Regions from separate parts of the Homo sapiens genome. Here regions 2, 3, 4 and 5 are each linked to region 1. The links are contacts of gene promoters, found by promoter capture Hi-C in blood cells and fetal thymus (Javierre and others, 2016). All regions are on one chromosome and are shown on one strand. Each heading gives the region's core, a stretch centred on a gene start or on the middle of the fragment in contact. The rest is flanking DNA. Distances are from core to core; before and after follow the strand shown.

Evidence for each region. Contacts are between HindIII fragments. The CHiCAGO score rates a contact against its expected background, and 5 or more counts as called.
Region 2: a contact is called between a fragment that was not itself captured here and the fragment with the promoter of ZRANB2-AS1 in region 1, in 4 of 17 cell types (megakaryocytes, erythroblasts, endothelial precursors and 1 more). The highest score is 6.7, in megakaryocytes.
Region 3: a contact is called between a fragment that was not itself captured here and the fragment with the promoter of ZRANB2-AS1 in region 1, in 1 of 17 cell types (M2 macrophages). The highest score is 5.5, in M2 macrophages.
Region 4: a contact is called between a fragment that was not itself captured here and the fragment with the promoter of ZRANB2-AS1 in region 1, in 1 of 17 cell types (erythroblasts). The highest score is 5.2, in erythroblasts.
Region 5: a fragment that was not itself captured here is called in contact with the fragment with the promoter of ZRANB2-AS1 in region 1 in 1 of 17 cell types (erythroblasts); the score reaches 5.1 in erythroblasts.

What each region holds. Positions count from the first base shown.
Region 1 is chr1:71,045,125-71,047,824 of GRCh38, reverse strand. It overlaps ZRANB2-AS1 (ZRANB2 antisense RNA 1), which reads right to left and starts at 1,319. Exons shown (of 3, transcript NR_038420.1): 1 at 236-1,319. PTGER3 (prostaglandin E receptor 3) reads left to right here and starts at 9. Exons shown (of 4, transcript NM_198719.2): 1 at 9-1,144. The coding sequence starts at 248. RefSeq lists an enhancer at 12-595. The HindIII fragment of the contact is 6,286 bases long and covers 1-2,700 here.
Region 2 is chr1:70,656,830-70,659,529 of GRCh38, reverse strand. No RefSeq gene overlaps it. Among named protein-coding and RNA genes, the nearest start is that of LINC01788, 48 kb to the left of the region's middle. The HindIII fragment of the contact is 1,700 bases long and covers 479-2,178 here.
Region 3 is chr1:70,728,832-70,731,531 of GRCh38, reverse strand. All of the region lies in intron 5 of LINC01788 (long intergenic non-protein coding RNA 1788), which reads right to left. Among named protein-coding and RNA genes, the nearest start is that of LINC01788, 24 kb to the right of the region's middle. The HindIII fragment of the contact is 7,441 bases long and covers 1-2,700 here.
Region 4 is chr1:70,593,194-70,595,893 of GRCh38, reverse strand. No RefSeq gene overlaps it. Among named protein-coding and RNA genes, the nearest start is that of LINC01788, 110 kb to the left of the region's middle. The HindIII fragment of the contact is 1,151 bases long and covers 811-1,961 here.
Region 5 is chr1:70,617,872-70,620,571 of GRCh38, reverse strand. No RefSeq gene overlaps it. Among named protein-coding and RNA genes, the nearest start is that of LINC01788, 87 kb to the left of the region's middle. The HindIII fragment of the contact is 1,067 bases long and covers 754-1,820 here.

The DNA of each region.
Region 1 (2,700 bases), core at 70-2,569:
CTCCGCGCGCCTCGCCACCAGAGGTTTCCCAGAGAGGAAGGCGTGGCTCCCTCCCGGGCCAGTGAGCCCTGGCGCCGCCGCGGCCGCGGTCCCAGCAGCGGAGTAGGGCGGCGGCTGCGCCCCGCACCATGGGGGGCAGCCCAGCCCCAGCCGCGGTAAACGCCGACCTCCGCCGCCGCCCGCGCCGCGTCTGCCCCCTCCCGCTGCGGCTCTCTGGACGCCATCCCCTCCTCACCTCGAAGCCAACATGAAGGAGACCCGGGGCTACGGAGGGGATGCCCCCTTCTGCACCCGCCTCAACCACTCCTACACAGGCATGTGGGCGCCCGAGCGTTCCGCCGAGGCGCGGGGCAACCTCACGCGCCCTCCAGGGTCTGGCGAGGATTGCGGATCGGTGTCCGTGGCCTTCCCGATCACCATGCTGCTCACTGGTTTCGTGGGCAACGCACTGGCCATGCTGCTCGTGTCGCGCAGCTACCGGCGCCGGGAGAGCAAGCGCAAGAAGTCCTTCCTGCTGTGCATCGGCTGGCTGGCGCTCACCGACCTGGTCGGGCAGCTTCTCACCACCCCGGTCGTCATCGTCGTGTACCTGTCCAAGCAGCGTTGGGAGCACATCGACCCGTCGGGGCGGCTCTGCACCTTTTTCGGGCTGACCATGACTGTTTTCGGGCTCTCCTCGTTGTTCATCGCCAGCGCCATGGCCGTCGAGCGGGCGCTGGCCATCAGGGCGCCGCACTGGTATGCGAGCCACATGAAGACGCGTGCCACCCGCGCTGTGCTGCTCGGCGTGTGGCTGGCCGTGCTCGCCTTCGCCCTGCTGCCGGTGCTGGGCGTGGGCCAGTACACCGTCCAGTGGCCCGGGACGTGGTGCTTCATCAGCACCGGGCGAGGGGGCAACGGGACTAGCTCTTCGCATAACTGGGGCAACCTTTTCTTCGCCTCTGCCTTTGCCTTCCTGGGGCTCTTGGCGCTGACAGTCACCTTTTCCTGCAACCTGGCCACCATTAAGGCCCTGGTGTCCCGCTGCCGGGCCAAGGCCACGGCATCTCAGTCCAGTGCCCAGTGGGGCCGCATCACGACCGAGACGGCCATTCAGCTTATGGGGATCATGTGCGTGCTGTCGGTCTGCTGGTCTCCGCTCCTGGTAGGTAGTTCCAGGGTTGGGGGAAGTCAGGATGCGTGTGCGAGTAAGCGGGAACCTAAGACTTTGCTAAGTGGCAGCACCCGCAGGGGTGTGTTTGCAACCGCAGAGCGCTGAAGTGTCCTTTCCTCCTGCCCGCGCGGTCTTGGTTACAGCTTCAGAGCTGAGCTCCTCACTTACTAGCTGAGCGCCTTCCAAGAGCCAGGATTCGCATTAGGCACTGTTTATGAGCACATAGAGATCACAGGGCTGCTCACATTCTAGTCGGGTAGGAGACAGGATGTGTCATTGAAATGACATATATGCAGAGCTAGAAGTTTGTCCTGAGTGCATTAAAAGCAGAATTGCTATGATAACTGTAGCCTGATATTGTGGGGTTTTTTTTTTTTTTTTTTTTTGAGACGGAGTCTCGCTCTGTCACCCAGGCTGGAGTACAGTGGCGCAGCCTCGGCTCACTGCAAGCTCCGCCTCCCGGGTTCACGCCATTCTCCTGCCTCAGCCTCTCCGAGTAGCTGGGACTACAGGCGCCCGCCACCACGCCCGGCTAATTTTTTTTTTTTATTTTTAGTAGAGACGGGGTTTCACCGTGGTCTCGATCTCCTGACCTCGTGATCCACCCGCCTCGGCCTCCCAAAGTGCTGGGATTACAAGCGTGAGCCACCGCGCCCGGCCGGGTTTTTTTTTTTTAATTTCAAATTCCTCTTTCACGTTAATAAGATTTTCAGTCTGCAACCCCATACAGTCACAGCCCTCCTGCAGCTTCTGAAAGACTGCGCGACCTATGGGTGCCTTCAAGGTTCATTCTTGATGAGGCAGGAGAATGAAAGATACGAGTTGCCTCCTCAGCCTTTCGCCATGGTGCTTGACCCTCTAGGAAGTGCCCGAACGACAGTCAGTGGGATCCGGAAGCTCAGCAGCTTCTTCAGGCCAGCATTTACTTACCCTTGTAGCACTCAAGCAGGGTTCGCTAATCCTGAGATAGGAGGTAGAGGTTTCTCCATGTCCTAGCTCCTCACACCAGAGCAATGCAGAGGAGCAAGGGATGTTTGCAGAGGCTCTTTGCCTAACACCTGCCCTTACGTGATATTTTTGAGGTTTTTTTGTCTGTGTTACTTTTAGCTAGAAATGTCCGTGTGTAAGTGCTGTTTACTAATTCCTGAAGAATGGATGCTTACTTAGGCCCTGGGGTGTCTGGGTTAATAGATGTTGCAGAAAGAGCGATATGGTCACTGTTACAAAGGTATAACCAACTATATGTATTATACAGTTGTGGAAAACCTTTGAAACACGTGAACGCAGTTTTTTTTCTTTCCTAATTATGGTAAAATATATTACATACAATTCAGTATTTTAACCATTATTATGTGTACAGTTCAGTGGCATTAGGCATTAAGTACGTTGAGTTTTTTGTGCGCCATGTATACTTTTAAATCCCTTGCATTTGAAAATAGAAATGTAATTTCTTTAACCTGGTTTGGTAGATTGGAGCACAAACCTTGGCTCCAAATCAGTGACATGAGGGGACAAGGAGTGTTATGCTGAGACCTAACTGCCCACAA
Region 2 (2,700 bases), core at 79-2,578, 390 kb after region 1:
TGTAGTAGAATACACGTTTCAATGTTTTATCCATGTCATTAACTTTACATAAGATAGTATGTATTTAGCAAAAAGGTAAAAAAACACCTGAGGATGAACTAAATTCCACCTGTTCCCGTTTCTGAGTAAGCTAGAATGTGAGGGCCATGAAGGAAGGGATTGTTGCCTACTTTGTAAAACAAAAAAAAAATCACTGTGCATAGAACATTGTAGACATAGTAGATGCTCAAGAAACATTTAGTGACTGAATCATGAATGAGGAGGCACTGTATCTCTAGTTTTTGTCATTGCTACAGATGGTCTTCACACTCACAAATATTTACCTTCTCACCTTATCCTAGCACATTTTTATAGCACTTTCCTTATTTATTTTTTAAATACATGGCCATTTTTAAGAAAGCATTTTGTGGTTTACATTCATCTATTTTTCATTCTTCAAAATGTTGTTTTGCAGTATCTAATGGACAGTTTAAAAGCTTCATGAACGAAAAGGCACCTTTTGCCAAAATTAAATGAATGCAAAAGAATGAAAAGTTTGGGTTGAGTTCAAAATTGTAAGCTCCCAAGGAAAATGAATGCACAAAACTTGTGGTTTTCATTTCCCATATTCTTATATTAAACATATGAAATTCAAGAGTTCTGACTGAATTAGAAAAGTTAAAATTTGAGGACAAATTTTCAACGATAAAAATGTTCTAAAGACTCTTAAACCCAAATCTTACTAAATAGCCTGACTAGCAATCGTATTTTTTATGTCAATGTGTTTATTTTTCTACAACAACAGTAAAAATTTTACTAAATCCCAGGCTATCTGTAATTATTTCACAGAAATGAATGGCTCTGTATGTTTGTTGAGAAGAGAACAGAAGATCTGCTACTCTTCAACCACTGGAGGATATTAATCTTACTCTTTCTCATAAAACTGTCTAACAAACATAAGAAAAATATAAAATTTTGCTAGCAAATACAGAAATGCAAGTAAAAGCAATAAGGCAGCATTTTCATCAATTAAAAAGGTAATGAACATCACTATGTATTTAGGTTTTTCATATTGTTATGATTTTCTTAGGATACATTTTTCAGTATGGAATAATTGAATGAAAATCTGGAGACCCAGGGCAGTGGCTCATGCCTGTAATCCCAGCACTTGGGGAGGCCGAAGCGGCAGATCACCTGAGGTCAGGAGTTCGAGACCAGCCTGGCCAACATGGCGAAACCCCATCTCTACTAAAAGTATGAAAATTAGCTAAGCGTGATGTCATGTGCCTGTAATCCCAGCTACTCGGGAGGCTGAGGCAGGAGAATTGCATGAACCCAGGAGGCAGAGGTTGCAGTGAGCGGAGATCGTGCCACTGCACTCCAGCCTGGGCAACAGAGTAAGACACAAAAAGAAAGAAAGAAGAATGAAAGAAAGAAGGAAAGAAAGAAAGAAGAAGGAAGGAAGGAAGGAAGGAAGGAGAAAGGAAGGAAGGAAATCTGGAAATACATAGATAAATTACTTCAGAAAATGTAACAAATTACTATACTGAAAGCACAAATTTTATAACATCTTGCCATCATAGGCTTCTTGTCATATAATTTTTTAAATGTAATATAGTAAAATTTACTCTTTTGGTGTACATTCTATGAGTATTGACAAATGTATAGTGTCATGTAACCACACCACAATCAATATATACAACAATCCGTCACCCCAAAAATGCCTCTTTGTATAGTCAACCCCTTCCCACCCAGCTCCTGGCAACAACTGATCTGTTCTCTGTACTTGTAGTTTGTCTTTTCCCACAATGTCATATAATTGGGCTTATACACTATTAAGCCTTTTGAGCTTGGCTTATTTCACTAACATAAGACATTTGAGATTCTTCCATATTGTTGCATGAATCAATCATTTTTTTCCTTTTATCACTGAGCAGTGTTCCATTTTGCGGATGTACCAAAGTTGAATATCCATTAATCAGTTGAGTTGTTCACAGTCTTTGGTGATTATAAATACAGTCACTGTAAATATTTCCATATGGGTTTTTGTGTGAACCTAAGATTTATTTCTCTTGAGTTAATTGGCACTTTTTAGAAAAATTATTTATCATATTTATTTTATTGCATTTAAGTATCCCTGCTACAAACTCAAGTTTTCCCAGGGGATATTAGTACTCCAGTTGGTGAGAAACATAAGCTTAGGTAAAGTCATATCCAAGATAATTGTACATAAAACTCTGAGCACTTAGTTTAAATTTGGAAAGTGCTAGAGGTACAAAGAAATCCTCAAATATAAAATTAATTGTGAAGCTTTAAATTATTGAGACTAGTTAATGTGCATTTTTTTGTTTTTTAATAAATGACTCCAACTTTCAAAACTTAACTTTGAATGCTTCTGTTGGTTATAGGGAAATATGTAAGAAGGCATAAAAAGTTTTTGAATGTAAAGTTTCCAAAATAACTTGAAATTTGAATGATCAGTGTTAATTTCCAATAATCTTAATTCTAAAAATAAGATAATAATAATTGTCCTTGTCTATAAGAAGTTTACAGATGCACTGGGGAAGTTTATCTTGTGCTTGGAGAGTGAAACAACAATCCAGGACAGAAGGTTAAAAATAACAAACGAGTACAATAGTTAATAAGTACTAATGGAGTTCAGAGATATAGGATACTTCATTTGAAGTTGCTGGCTTCTTCTGTAACTGGTACACTTTGGAG
Region 3 (2,700 bases), core at 198-2,697, 320 kb after region 1:
AAGTCATGTGGTTTGATCAAATGTAACACCTTTGTTACAGAGTTATGACAGGAGTCTACAGAGTCTACAATGCCCAACTCATACTTTCCGCCAAAGTATTAGGTTGAACTATTTGAAATTACCAATATTGAACCATTGTTACCTATTAAAAAGGTAGGTTCAACTGAGTATATAATCTGCCATTGAGGAAAGACTTCAAAAACTGTTATATTTTCCTAATAAGCATTTATTTAGCACCTACTACATACTTAATTAAATATTTAATGTGTAATTCTAAGGAATGTGTCATTTAATTCTCCTTTGATATATAGTTATTAGCATTGTTCCTAGGACTTGGACTCCCTCAGGAGCTTCCTAAAATCTTATTTATTCTATCCCAGACTGAGGCCATCCCATATTTCTTGTGCTCTATGACATTTACAGATTGGATGTCACCAGATGGATTCTCAAAGCACCATGGAAAAAAGCTGGAGGACAAGCACTTGACGGAAGCTCATCCAGAGGCTTGGCCTCTGGTTTAATCCCAAAGATTCCTCTCACAGAACCACCATCTGTTAGAGATAAAAATTTCTAAATAGGTGTAGGCTATCCTCAGGACCTCCAAATGGCTTCCAGGCTGGAAATTATTTCTAGCCCTACTATGGGTTTCAGAACAGAATTGAATTTAAGTGGCCAAGGATGGGTGGATGTGAGGATGGAGACCCCAATATCAAGCTGTATTCCCAGAGATCTTTCTCACTGAGGGTCATCTAGGATATTTAAATAGCCTGGGGCCTCTTTATCTAGCCAGGTCCCAATGCCACCACCCTGCTCCCTGGTCACACTGGGAGCACACTTCTACCAACCCCGCTTTAGGTTTTGTCTTTTCAGGGCCCTACTTAGCAATTGCCTTCTTTTGGGCTATAATAAATACCAGATTAGAGCACACAACCTGGGTATTTGTCCTAACTTTTTCTGTGAGCAATAGTGTGACCTTAAGCACCAACTTAATTTCCCCTAGCTTTGCTTGCCTGACTTATAAAACAATGAAAATATGTATATATCAATCTAAAGAAATAATGCAATCTTTTCCAAACCATAGTATGTGTATTACTCATAATATATGAGATGATTTATACGGTTTATGGTCAATATCTTTGTCTTGACTACTTTTATCTTCTTTTTAAGAGAAGGCAAATGGTTTTTTATTTATATAATGTTACCTTTGAAAAAAGTATATGTTTTCTAAGATCTAAATTGATTTAAATAAAAATATTAATAAAATTACAAGGAGTACACGGATATGGCAAAACAACTTGTAAAGGAAGTTGATGTATTAGAAACACTGAATTAACATATGTTGTACTTGTCGATATAAGAAAACTTATCAGCTATTCATGGGGGGGCATCTGGCCATTCCAGCACTACATTAGAAAAGGAGGTACATACCTGAATTATCCATATGTCCACTTATATTTTTGAAATTTACCAGTTAAATGCTTCACTTCCCTTTTCCCTTTGCCAGTGTATATAGTCCCAGAGCATGCAAAGTACTGCTACTGCAAACTTTCTTAGACTTCACAAATCACATCCCATCACTGCCTTCCTGTGGCTTTTAGTCCCCAACATTTTCCAGCATAAACTCTTTTCCTTCATCATCACCTGAGCTATAATCACCTCATCTCACCTTCCTCTAACCACTCAGGATTCATGTCAGCCTAGTTAGCACTTGGCTCACCCAACCTTGTCTGTTCTGCCACTGCTACCTTGCACACAACCAATTGTTTCTTCAAGATCTATTTCAAAGCCCACTTATGTCCTGAAATCTAGCTAACTACATGACTTCCAGATGTATTTATCTACCTTCTAAGTCTTTGGCATTGAATATAGTGTGTTTTGTCTAGGCTTGCATAGAAGAAAAGAAGATTAGAAATTACAGTGATGGATAATGAATACTGTGATAAAGATGTTATGCATTGTTGTGGAAGAAGTAGAACAGAAAGGTCTTAAGAGTACAGACTCTGAAGTCAGACTGTCTGGGTTTCATTCTGGCATGCCACTTGCCACTTGAAGAAATTATTCAGCCTCTCTGAGTCTCCTGGTCTCATTTGAAACTGCAGCTACTAATAGTTGCTACTTCATAAGGTTATTGTGAAGATTAAATGAGCTAGTATAGGGAAGCGCTTGGGCCAATGCCTGAAATATTGGTTATTGTTACATGCAGAGGGTACAAATGGCAACATATAAGAGGTGTCCCCAAACAGAGTTCTAACCAAGAGGCAGTCTGGAGAAAATGGTGTTTGAGTTTATTATTGCAGGACAGGTAGGAGTTAGTCAAGTGTGTGTGCTTGTGTGGGCCTGGGGTATTACAGTGAGGGTGGATTAGGCAGTGAGTACCGCAGTCACACAATCATACCATCATAAAAGTGGGGATGGAAACAAGGAGTAAAAGAGCATGGCATATTATAGAAGTGCAGGGGACATTTCTAGTGCAAGGGTCCAGGGGTAGGCAGTAATGAAACACAAGGCCACACATTTGAGGCAAGTCATAGGAAGGCTTTGCACACCGCACTAAGAAAAAAAAAGTATTTGAGTGCCTGCTATGTGCCAGATGCTGTTTTATTTTGGAGACTGGGTACCACAGTGAAAAATGCATAGCCTCTATATTTGGCATGGCCTAACTGAAAAGATAAATACATAATTAAATGATAACATGATAAA
Region 4 (2,700 bases), core at 137-2,636, 450 kb after region 1:
AACACACGAAAAAATCCTCACCATCACTGGCCATCAGAGAAATGCAAATCAAAACCACGATGAGATACCATCTCACACCAGTTAGAATGGCAATCATTAAAAAGTCAGGAAACAACAGGTGCTGGAGAGGATGTGGAGAAATAGGAACAATTTTACACTGTTGGTGGGACTGTAAACTAGTTCAACCATTGTGGAAGTCAGTGTGGTGATTCCTCAGGGATCTAGAACTAGAAATACCATTTGACCCAGCCATCCCATTACTGGGTATATACCCAAAGGATTATAAATCATGCTGCTATAAAGACACATGCACATGTATGTTTATTGCAGCATTATTCACAATAGCAAAGACTTGGAACCAACCCAAATGTCCAACAATGATAGACTGGATTAAGAAAATGTGGCACATATACACCATGGAATACTATGCAGCCATAAAAAATGATGAGTTCACGTCCTTTGTAGGGACATGGATGAAACTGGAAATCATCATTCTCAGTAAACTGTTGCAAGAACAAAAAACCAAACACTGCATATTCTCACTCATAGGTGGGAATTGAACAGTGAGAGCACATGGACACAGGAAGGGGAACATCACACTCTGGGGACTGTTGTGGAGTGGGGGGAGGGGGGAGGGATAGCATTGGGAGATAGACCTAATGCTAGATGACGAGTTAGTGGGTGCAGCGCACCAGCATGGCACATGTATACATATGTAACTAACCTGCACATTGTGCACATGTACCCTAAAACTTAAAGTATAATAATAATAATAATAATAAAAGAAATCTCATGAATATATAACAAGCTTTTTAGAAATGCTGACTCCCCTATTCTAAAAATGGCTCTGCATTCTCTGGCATCTTCCCATTAATGACTAACATTTTGCTTCTTAATTTCTACAAGGAAATAAACATGGTGGCTCTAGAGCACCAGCATCAAAATCACTCTGAAATTTGACCCTAGAGGGAGAGGCCAGCAAAGGTAGACTCTCTTCCAAAGGGTAATGCACTAATCACTTCTTACTTTATGGTTATTATTATTTTCCTAAACTAGGTTATATAAGAAAAAGAAAAATAAGATTTTTATATTAATATGAAATTACTCTAATATGCTTTTATGCATCATTAAAGTTCTGGGGCTATATCATTACCTCTGGCTTGTAAGCTCCTTCAGCTTCTTTGAACCAGAAAGTCACAGAAAGATTTCTGTGTTGGTTCCCAGAGAGAAAGGTAGTAAGGCCTAGGAAGGACCATGGTCAAAAAGCGTGCTCTCAGGACACATTGAAAAACAAATTCTAGTGGTTAGATCCATTCTCCTGCTCAGGTGCAGTTTTCCTGGTATATGGTCCTCAGCGTGGTCAAGGGTCAAGAGAAATGAGAATCTGGGAGTTGGTGCTTGACAAAGTCATCTCTCACCTGATTTAGTTTGTAATACCAAATAATCATTTACAAAAAATTATTTGAATGCTTTCAATTCATTCTGAGTGACAATATATTTGCATAGATAGGTCTTTTTGTGCAACATTTACACATGTTGCTGTAATGGGGTTTTGGAAAAGAAGTGCTACTTTTCATTACATAAAGGTTAATACCTTCATTAATAAAGGTTAGTGCCATGTCTCAAATTTTTTCTGATAAACCATGCCTAAAAGTGAACTAAAGTAGGCAGTAAAGTTAAACCATCTTTTGCCTCCTGGGACCTAAACATCAATTTTCTGGCACCTCATATTTATTGGTGAAATTACATTAAGTGGCAAAATGTTTGCTTTCTTGGCTTTCACTTGCTTCCTACAATGTAGTGCTGAAGTACTAGATCTCTTAGCCTGCTTTCTTCCTTCTACCAAATCCATTTCTAAGTGTTTCTGGCAGGACTGAAAGGATATAGCAGAGATGATTACTTTCATGCGCGTCGTCCGTATTAAGAGACCACCAAAAAGGCTTTGTGTGAGCAATAAAGCTTTTAATCACCTGGGTGCAGGTGGGCTGAGTCCAAAAAGAGTCAGCGAAGGGAGATAAGGGTGGGGCCATTTTATAGGATTTGGGTAGATAAAGGAAAATTACAGTCAAGGGGGGTTGTTCTCTGGAGGGCAGAGTGGGGGGTCACAAGGTGCTCAGTAGGGGAGCTTTTGAGCCAGGATGAGCCAGGAATTTCACAAGAAAATGTCATCAGTTAAGGCAGGAACAGGCCATTTTCACTTCTTTTGTGGTGGAATGTCATCAGTTAAGGCAGAAACGGGCCATCTGGATGTGTACGTGCAGGTCACAGGGATATGATGGTTTAGCTTGGGCTCAGAGGCCTGACATTCCTGTCTTCTTATATTAATAAGAAAAATAAAATGAAATAGTGGTAAAGTGTTGGGATGGTGAAAATTTTGGGGGGTGGTGTGGAGAGATAATGGGCGATATTTCTCAGGGCTGCTTCGAGCGGGATTAGGGGCGGCGTGGGAACCTAGAGTGGGAGAGATTAAGCTGAAGGAAGATTTTGTGGTAAGGGGTGATATTGTGGGGTTGTTAGAAGAAATATTTGTCGTGTAGAATTATTGGTGATGGCCTGGATATGGTTTTGTATGAATTGAAAAACTAAATGGAATAAGAGAAGGAGAAAAACAGGTATAAAAGGCCTAAGAATTGGGAGGACCCAGGACACCTGATTAGAGAGTGCCTAAGGAGATTCAGCATAGTCCTGCCAGCAAAGATT
Region 5 (2,700 bases), core at 38-2,537, 430 kb after region 1:
ATCAAGATGTCCTTCAGTAGGTGAAAAGATAAATAAACTGTGGGACATTTAAACAATGGGATGTTATTCAGTACTGGAAAAAAAAAGAGAGAGTTTTCAAGCCATGAAAAGACATGGAGGAAAATTAAATGCATATTACTAAGTGAAAGGAAGCCAATCCGAAAAGGCTATATGCTGTATAATTCCAACCATATGACATTCTGGGAAAGACAAAACTATGGAGATTGGAAAAGGATAAGTGATTTTTCAGGGGTTAATGAGAGTGGGAGACATGAATGGGCAGAGCACAGAAGATTTTTGGGGCAGTGAAATTATCCTGTATGATACAATGGTGGATCCATGTCATTATGTATTTGTTGAAACCTACCAAATGTGCAATAACAACAGTGAACCCTAATATAGACTATCAACTTCGGGTGATAACGATGTATCAGTGTAGGTTCATCACTTGTAACAAATGTACCACTCAGACGGAGCATGTCAATGGTCAGGGCGAAGCTTGTACATGTGTCAAGACAGGAGGTATGTGAGAACTCTCTGTACTTTTCATTTGATTTTACTGTGAACCTCAAACAGTTCTAAAAAAAAAAAGTTTACTAACTAAAAATAATCCATGGTCTCACATTCTCATTAGCTTCTATTGATGATTTTTTCTTCTGGCAATAGGTCACATTTTCCTGCTCCCTTATATGTTGACTAGCACTAATTATCAATTGCCTTCTGATTATTATGAGTTCTGTATTGCTGAAAGCTTGGATTATGTTGTCTTTAAAGAATCTTGAGATTTTTACTTACTATTTATAATGCTCTTAATTGCTTTTTATATATCCAGATTTCCATCTGCTATCATTTTTCTTTAGCCTGAAAATGTTCTTTTAATATTCCCTGTAGTTTAGGCCTGCTGGTGATGAAATCCCTAAGGAATTTTTTGTCTGAATAAGCCTTTAATTTTGAAGGATGTTTGCCTGATATAAAATGTTAGGTTAAAGGTTTTACTTTTTTTTCTTTTAGCACTAAAGATATTGCTCCATTGTCTCTGGCTTGAATGATTTCTGAAGAGAAATCTGTGGTAATTCTTTTTTGTTCCCCCATATTAACTTTTCTCTGGATGCGTTTAAGTTTTTCTCTTTATTACTGATTTTCAGCTATTTGATTATGATTATCTGTAGTACTGTCTTCTTCCTTTTTTTAATGTAGTTTCCTTAGCTTTTTGAGCCAGCAGATTTATATCAAGGAATTTGGAAATATTCCTACCATTAGTCTTCAAATATTTTTGTATCTCCCATTGTCCTCAGAGAGTTCTAGGACTCAAAGTACATGCATGTCAGACTGTTTAATATTATCCTCTAGTCAGGACCAGCTACATAGTTTGGAGGGCCAGTGCAAAATAAAAATGAGAGACTCTTTATTCAAAAATTGTTGAGAATGTTAAGAGGCAATGACACAGCACTAAACCTAGTGAGGCCCCTCCTGAGTGTGGAGCCTATGTTACTGAAAATGTGCAAGCCTATAAAGGCTGTTCAGAGGTAATTGAGGCTTTTTTCATATTATTTCAGTCTTTTTTTAAAAGTCTTTATCTTGGATAGTTTCTGTTGCTATGTCTTTAAGATCACTTACCATTTTTTCTTCAGTGTCTAATCTGTTGTTTAACTCACCTAATGAATTTTCCATTTGGTTAATTGTATTTTTAGCTCTGTGAGTACCATTTGTTTCTTTTTTACTTTACCCATTTCTTTCCTTATTATATTTATTTGTTCCTATAAAATTTTAATCATATATATGTACTTTCTAAACATATATATATAATTTCTATATAAGCTTTTTCTAATGATTCCATCATCTTTGTCATTTCTTGATCTGTTTATATTGACTGATTTTTCTATTTATTATAGGTCACATTTTTCTGCTTCTTTGAATGTTAACTATCTTTTAGGAGATGCCAAACATTGTGAATGTTATTGCTGTGGTGTGAATGTTTGTTTCCCCACTCCTAAAATTTATATATTGAAATCCTAATTCCCAAGATGATGGTATTAGGAGGTGGGGCCTTTGGGGGTGATTAGATCATGAAGGCAGTGCTCTCATAATTAGGATTAGCACCCTTATAAAAGAGACCACATAGAGCTAGTTAGTCTCTTCCATCATGCAAGGACACAGCAAGAAGTCACCCTTCTATGAACTAGGAAGCAGGCCTTTGTCAGATACAAAATTGGCCAGTGCCTTGATCTTGGGCTTCCCAGCTTTTAGAACTGTGAGAAACAAATGTCTGTTATTTATAAATCACCCAGTTTATGGTATTTCATTATAGCAGTCCTAATAGGCTAAGACAGTCAGGTTGTTGTGTGACTGAATCATATTAAAGGGTGTTGAGTTTTGTTTTGGAAGGCAATTAATTTACTGGCAAGTCAAATTGACAGTGTTGATGCTTTGTTTTAGCTTTACTAGAAAAGATCAGGAGTAGCCCTTATTCTGAGGCTGGAGTAAACCTCTTAAAGTATGGCCTTTCTGGGGTTTCAACTAATGTTTCTGGTGTTCTAGCTGGTCAAAAAACCAATGTTCCTCAGCACTTTGCAACCTATGGAGACTCTTTAGCTCAAAAAAAAAACCCTGTAGCTATTCTTTGCAAGACCTCATGGAGTCACTCTTTGCATGTGCAGCTTAGCATTCAGCCAAAATTCAAGGGATCACTATGAAGATTCT